Linked DNA regions of Homo sapiens: region 2 is linked to region 1. Evidence: promoter capture Hi-C in 16 types of primary human blood cells and fetal thymus (Javierre and others, 2016). All regions are on one chromosome and are shown on one strand. The core of a region is centred on a gene start or on the middle of the fragment in contact, and the rest is flanking DNA. Distances in the headings are between cores, read along the strand shown. Region 1 holds the start of PDPN (podoplanin). Region 2 overlaps PRDM2 (PR/SET domain 2).

The links. Contacts are between HindIII fragments. The CHiCAGO score rates a contact against its expected background, and 5 or more counts as called.
Region 2: a contact is called between a fragment that was not itself captured here and the fragment with the promoter of PDPN in region 1, in 1 of 17 cell types (total B cells). The highest score is 5.0, in total B cells.

What each region holds. Positions count from the first base shown.
Region 1 is chr1:13,582,548-13,586,169 of GRCh38, reverse strand. It overlaps PDPN (podoplanin), which reads right to left and starts at 2,338. Exons shown (of 6, transcript NM_006474.5): 1 at 2,070-2,338. The coding sequence starts at 2,136. RefSeq lists an enhancer at 1,897-2,435. The HindIII fragment of the contact is 6,524 bases long and covers 575-3,622 here.
Region 2 is chr1:13,804,721-13,808,715 of GRCh38, reverse strand. All of the region lies in intron 8 of PRDM2 (PR/SET domain 2), which reads right to left. Among named protein-coding and RNA genes, the nearest start is that of PRDM2, 110 kb to the right of the region's middle. RefSeq lists an enhancer at 3,872-3,995. The HindIII fragment of the contact is 7,820 bases long and covers 1-3,995 here.

The DNA of each region.
Region 1 (3,622 bases), core at 1,089-3,588:
AGCAGCGAGCAGCAGCTTGCAGAATCTCACAAAATAAACTCTCTAATGAAGTGGCCCCCAAAACGTGCCTTCCTGATGAAAGTTCAGCATGAGGGTGGCGCCTGACAATGGAAAAAAATGCCAGATGTGTGGACAACAGACCTCCTTTGAATCCACTAACACCCAAAGGGATGACACATGGGACCAGATTATAAAACTGAACCAGATTATAACCCTGGAGGAGGGAAACCCAGTAGGGCGTAGGATCTTATGAAAAGGATCATAAAATTCATCACCATAATTACCCCCCAGCCCAGCTCCCCAACAAAAGCCCACAATAGCTTCGCTCAATGATGTTATTCATCCATATTCAAGTCGCCTCGCTCATTATTCTCAGACAAAAACCCTGCTGGGCCTCTGCTCCTCTGGCAGCCAGGCAACTCAGCACCCACCCTCACTCAGCCAGCCCCGCATACCACTTCTTTCTTTAGTAGTGGAGTTTCCAGCACCAACGATGGTTTTTCGGTTTTAACGCCATCTTTTAGGAGTACCTTTGACATTCAGGAGCCGGCTGAAGGGAATCACAGCTAAAGCTTCCCTGGGCAAAAACAAAGGATGTTACCCAGCAGCTTTTTCTTTAGCAGGGCTGAGATGCTGAAGTGAGGGCGCTCCCTTGCTTTGCCCTGGTGAGCACAAAACGGTGTCATTTGCACATTGTCTCGCCAAAAAGGAAATGTAACTGAAAATACAGAACTGTATATATTCCAGTGGAAAGAGAAGTTCCAAAGATAGGACTGCTACGAATAACCCACGGCCCCTATAAAAAGAGTTGCTCAGTCCCTTTGAAGCAGACAGCACAGCATAGAGCAGAACTCTGTCATTTCCCTGAGATTGGGTATTTTTGTCTGTGTGGACCATTGTAGGAGGCCAGGTTAGGCGCACCCCTCCTGCAAACCGCTCCCTCTCCAAGAAGTATTCCTCAGGGCCTAGGCCTACCTTGATCCTCAATTTTTGGAAAATGTTTACTTTTCACAGCATAACTCAGCAACCTCCAGCCCCAAAGATCACGAGTTAGGTTACAATTCCTTCAACCAACATTTAGTGAGCAACTACTATGTGCCAGGCATTGTTTTGGCCGTGGGGAATCATGGCTGGATGTAGCTGCGTCCTGCAGAACATATGTTCTATTGAGGAAATATAAAAATAAAAACCCAAGAAAAGAAAACAAAATGTTGACAGATGTCAATGGAGACCACCAACACAGCAACCCAGCGGGAAGAGGTAAGGCTCCAGGAGAGGACAAAGGGTAATGGAAGCTGTGGACGCCCCCACCCCAACATGGGATACAAAATATTTAAAGCCTAAGGAGTCACCAACAGACATTCAGCCACTGATGTTGTTGCCCAAGATGAACACGTGGCTCAAACCCACTTAAACCTCAATGTTCGTAACGCGTAACAATCCTCATGCACTCACACTCCTCGGAAGCCTCCACTTGGATCCTTTCCACACACACTATCCTCTCTAAAGAGGATAAAGGAGGCCTCTTCCAGTCCAGTGACGGGGTGCTGAGTGTGTCCAACAGGCAGGGCGCCAGACTAGGTAGTCCCAAGGGGGACCAGGGCCACCGCAGGGCGGGGAACCCTCCCCTTGGCCCAAGCCCTCCTGAACGTCCCTCCTGATTCTACGAGGCCAGCTTCTCCCGAGGCGTGCGTATTCCTCCAACACACCGCTCTATGGGAAGGAAACCCCAGCCACTGCTGCCAGCAAGCGGGGCTGCCTACTGTGAACCTTCCACCCGATCTCTCTGGTGCTGCCGACTCGGAGGGAGGCCCCCTGTGCTGCCCACCTCGCAGCCTGTGGATTCCGGGGCTCCTCCCGGCACACCCGCGCAGCTGCGTCTTTGGGACCTGGCACCGACTAAGCCGCTGCCTCTCCTCCTCCGGCGCTCAGCCGCCTGACACGCACACACCCTCAGCTCCCCCGCGCTCCCCTGGACAACCTCGAATACCAGGCCCGGGCATTCCAGCAAGTCTCTGCTCGCTCGTCCCCATCAGCGACGGCAGGAAGCCACTTGCGCTGGGTCTTACCTCCTTCTGCCAGGACCCAGAGCGACGCGCTTCCCAAAACGAAGAGCAGAGCTGACACCTTCCACATCGTTCCCGTTGAGTTGTTGCTCTCCTGGGGGCCGAGCAGCAAGATTCTGAGCTGGGGGAAAATTAAAAAGCACCGCGGCCACAGGCCCAGCCTGGAGGAGCGCGACGGTGGGGGGGCCGGAGGGGTGGGAGCAGGAGCCCCGGAGAGGGAGGGTGCCCGAGCTTCCCAGACCCTAGGCAGCCGGACAGCAAACTTTGCAGTTGAGAACTTTCCGAGCGGAGTCAGCATTTATCTCTCCCGAGGAGGCGGGGGAGCGGGGTCGGCCGCAAGGTGGTCTCCGTCCGGGCGCGCTAGGCCCGCCCTCGGGCTCTGTTTGGCCGGCGCCAAAACGATGATCTCAGGCCAGGTTTAAAGTTACAGGGCCGCAGCTGCGGGGGCCGCCAGGACTGCGGGCCCTGGCAAAATGGGCTTTTATTCTGCTCAACAACAGGAGGGAAAGGGACCACATGCAACAAACGGGGTTTTAAAAATTATATATAAATTTTAAAAAACCTATATTTATTATTATTATTTTTTTAAGAGTAAGGCACAAGTCTATGTTTTTCTTGTTATGGGCAGAAGTGAGAAGTAAACTGTTTCTTGAGTGGCCAGTAGTTTTAGAACCAAGCATGGGGTTTTTCCTGTAAATATTGAATTTGATGGCTTAAAAACAAAAAAAGTTGGCCGTCATCTGGGTGGGCCAGAGGCGGCCCGCGCTGGTCAATTGCGCCCTTGTCCCGGGGACCGGAGCGGGCGGGCTCCGGGGGGCTGCCCCAGAGCTGGCTGGTGGGGGAGTTTGGCAGACCGGGTGGCTTTGGCAGTTTTGAAAAAGAGGCTGAACTCCATCCGCCTCTGCCGACCCGGGGATCCAGCGCTGCGATGCTGTGGCCCACCGACGTGCGCAGTTGGATTAGGCCGGGCCAAGCGGTGACCCGTCTGGTCGCCAAACCTGTGTCCCCTTCCAGGCCTGGTTCACCCTCTTTATTCCTGAGTTTGCTCCCATAATCCTCACTTTACTGGTTTAAGCGATCTTGCCTTGATCTCAGGTACCAGATATCAGCAACCAGAGAACTTACGTCTTTTACTTTAATTCCTTCTGAATTGCTGGAATTTAAAAAAATAAGAACAGGAGTTTGGGAAGTGGTCTCTGCTCCACTCCCAGATGCCACAAATTCCATTCAACAAAAGAACCTGAAGACTAACGCTGTCTCAAAGCTCCACATTGCGTGAAAATTGTTTTCAGATGCTTATCTTTGACCCCTCCCCATTATAAATTTACTTTCTAAGAATCACAGGAGAGATTGTTTTAAATAAATGCCCAGTTTCCTGGGTTCCACCCCAAACTCATTAATCAGACCTTTTCGGAATTCCTATTTTAAACCAGTGTCGCTGGAGAACTTGTCCCCATGAACATTTGGCAAACCTTGCCCTTCATCATAGCTTCTCAGCCAGATCTACCTGGGGCACTGGTTATGCAGGTGCAATTCTGTTGTGGGATAGGGAGAGA
Region 2 (3,995 bases), core at 902-3,401, 220 kb before region 1:
TAATAGACCCTCAACATGTAAGGAAGGAAGAAATGAGCAATTCAAGACTCTGTGATATTCCCACTGCACAGCTGTTCTCAGACACCAAGAAATCTGTTCAGTGCAGGGGAGGGAAAATGGACTTACTATGCTCCCCAAGATGCTCCTCCATAAAATCCCGGCAAAATGAATGAGATACGTAGTCCTCAATCCTAGACATCAAGAAAGGGTTGAACAAGTTCAGCATCAACTGTTTTTTTTTTTTTTTTTTTTGAGACAGAGTCTCACTCTGTCGCCCAGGCTGGAGTGCAGTGGTGCGATCTCCACTCACTGCAAGCTCCACCTCCCGTGTTCACGCCATTCTCCTGCCTCAGCCCGCCACCACGCCCGGCTAATTTTTTGTATTTTTAGTAGAGATGGGGTTTCACCATGTTAGCCAGGATGGTCTCGATCTCCTGACCTCGTGATCCGCCCGCCTCGGCCTCCCAAAGTGTGGGGATTACAGGCGTGAGCCACCGCGCCCGGCCCAGCATCAACTGTTTTTAGAAAGCAGGGGAGTGTAGCATTACCTTGGTAAGATTTTCATACACAGTGGTTGAACATTTTAAACATAGTAGCAGGGTTGGGAGGAACCTGCTGTGTGCCCCACACAGGCTTTGCCCAGAAGTGTCTGGCCTCTGGCAAAGTGTGCTCTACTGCCTACTCTAGGAGGGAAATTTCTGGACATTTTACTTAGAACAAAAACTAATGGACTTTGAAAGCACAGGGGGATGTCATACACCATCCAATCTGTATGGACGGGGAAGGATTGGGCAGAGGGCAGACCTCAAACACCTGGTCCACTCCCGGCTCATAGGAAGGCTCAGAAATGGTGCCTCAGAGCATCGTCTCCTGGGGATCCTAATTTCTTACTTGTCAGAATTCCTTGCTAGTCTGAAGACAATGCAAGGGCATTATCTATACAATAGAACGTCTAATAGAACATGTCTAGAAATAGAACATCTGCTCTGTTCCTGGCCTCAAGGATGCATTCATTCTTTCATTCAGTCATTCAGATTTCCAGTGGCCCATTCTTGCCTCAGGGACTCGGCACAGGCTGTTCCTGGAACACTCTTCCCCCAGGTGGTCTTGTGGCTCACTCCCAGGCCCCCTTTCAAGTTTCTGTTCAAATGTCTCATTCCCAGTGAGCCTCGCTTAACCACTTTATTTGAAATCACAAATCCCCCTGATACTCCCCATCTCGACTCCCTTTTACTTTCTGAGTTGTGCTTATCCCCATCAACAGAGCTGCGTTTACTGGTTATTGTTTACTGTCTGTCTAGCAGGCTCCATGAGGGGGCGCATTGGAGGCTGGTTTGTCACGGAGGCACCTCCAGCACCCCAGCCGCTGGCTGGCATACAGTAGCAGTCATCTACTATTTGTCAGGTGAACGGTGTGTCTATTCTGTGCCAGGTGCTTTGCCAACAGGAGTTTTAGTGAATAAAACAAGTCAAGTTCTCTACATATAGCATAGTTTTACATGTCACTTAGTGTAGCCTAGAGAGGAAAGATACTCATTTCAGAAGGAGTTTGATGCCCGTACGAGGCCAAGACTCAGGCCTCCTGGCTCCCAAATGACCACATTCTTATTCAGCCCCCAGTGGTTTTGGATAAGGGAGAAATCCAGACACACTGAAATATACAAGAGAAAATGAAACTGAAGAAACAGGAGTGAAGGTCAGAGTGGAGGAGAAGACAGGGAAAGGTGACATGGGAAACGGCAGTGTGTGGGCTACGACCTGGGGTGGGGGGATCAATCGGTCCGGATACTACGCCTTGTGCGTTCCAGGAAGTGGGGACAGGAAGTGCAAAGGCCCTGAGGTGAGACCCACCAGGAATGTCTGAGGTGATGTGGGCAGAGGGGAGGGTCTCATAGGCCTTCAAGTGAGGTGTCAGTCAGTTGTCCTTCTGGGCAGAGGAATATCATGACCCAAAGTGGCTGCTGTGCTGGGCACAGACCGTGGGTTGACAGGGAAGGAACTGGGGACACCAGCAAGGAGGTGACTGCCACCATCCAGGGAGATGATGGTGGCCTGGACCTCAGGTCAGCTGAGGAGGCTGAGCTGAGAGAAGCTGTGGATTCCGGGTGAGTTTGGGGATCTGCTGATGAGCTGGATGTGGGGATGGAGGAAGAGGTTGGAGTCTAGCTGGTAGCTGGACTCCAAGCAGGACCGTTTCCATTCATCCCACATAGGGAGGACAGCAGGAGAGGGAGGCTTCATGGAGAGACAGTTTCATTTTGGAAAGATTAAATTTGAATCTAGACACCCAAGGGAGATGTCAGGTGGGCGGCTGAATGGAGATTCTGATGAGGGTGGAAACCCGGGATTGGTCAGCATCCAGGTGGTATTTAACGCATGTGACTGGATGAGATCACCAAGGGGGAGCGGAGACGGAGCGAGGGGACAGAGCCCAGGGATGGAGGCGGGATGCGGGGGACAGAGCCCAGGGATGGAGGCGGGATGCGGGGGAGCAGCTGGTAATGTGCAGAGACTGGGAGAGGGCGGTGTCCAGGTGGAGAGTATTTCAAGGAAGAGAAGGATTAACAGCGTCCACTGCCGCAGATGGGCCAAGGGAGATGGGACTGGAAACCAACCACTGCATTGAGCATCCTGGGGGCTGCTGATAACCTTGGTTTGATGGCTCCTCAAGAAGAGCCAAAACCCTGAAAGTGAGTTCAAGAGAGAAGGGGAGAAGAGACACTGGAGGCAGGAACCCAGAGGACGCTTCAAGAAGGGTGGAGGGAAAGGAGTTTGGGAGGGAAGGAGCTGCCGGCTTTCAGAGGACATGGGCTCTCCAGGGCTCCAGGGTCCCCACGTGGCCACGGTGCTCTTCCAAGCTCCCTGCCAGACCGCCATGGGCATCCTGGGCTGGGATCTCTGCCTGCCCTGGTCCCTCCTTGCACCTTTTTCTCACAGTCTTCAGGAGGGATCTCCTGGGACAGCCATACAGAAAGCTGGTTAGGCCACATCGCTGGCCGCAGAAGTCTTACACAACTCTCTAAATTCTCAGAGTGCAATTCATTTGAAGTCAGTGTCTGATATTCTGCACTTTTGCTGAAGGTAGGGGAAAGGCAGAGGGTGGGGAGATGGTGCAAAGGTAAGACAAGCCTGTGATGATGCTGATATTCCCTGGGGGCTGGGTGAGGGCCCACAGGTGGGAGCTGTGGGAGCCATCGGCCCTCAGCCACCTCCAGGAACAGTCGACATCCACTGCAGGACCCACCTTCCCCAAGTGGGAAGGCCCACGTGCTTCAGGAAGCCCCTGCCCATTCAAATGAAGCCCCCAGCCTGGGGGAAGGGCTGAGAAGACAGAGAAGAAAGAAGCAGGGCAGGAACCCAAAGGAGGATGGGGTGGGGATTCCAGAGCCCAGAGCTGGAATCCTAGCTCCATTACGGACTTGCTGTGTAGCCGCTGGAAAATGCCTCTACCTCGCTGAGCCATAGAAGTCTTGCCTGTAAAATGAGGATGTCAGGCAAGGGGGAAAAAAACATCATCGCATCATCCACTGAGCACTTTCTATACACCAGGAGCTACTTTGGGTAGTTTTTGGGAGCTCCTCAAATTCCCAGCAGTCCTGTAAGGCTGGGCCTGTGATGGTCCTGGTTTTACAGAGGAGGGTTCTGAGGCTCAGAGAAATAAAGAAGCTGGACACTCAAGTTCCCTCGGCCAAGTAGAGAAGCAGCCAAGATTTGAATCCAGGACCATTTGACACCAAAGCCCATGCCCCACTCCCTGACACAGTCCCCATAGTAGTGAGGATTGAAGAGTTGTTTCCAATATCCCAAAGCCAGGTGGGGGTGAGCCTTTGCCCATAGAGCAGCTGCATTGACCACTCAAGACTCTGGCAGTCTGTTTTGGGCTGGACCCACCTTTGCTCAGAGGGCACTGGAACAGAGAATCTCAAACTCGGGTGTTCACTGCAATCCCCTGGGGATACTAAACCGATCCTGATGCCTGCTTTCTATCCCAACAA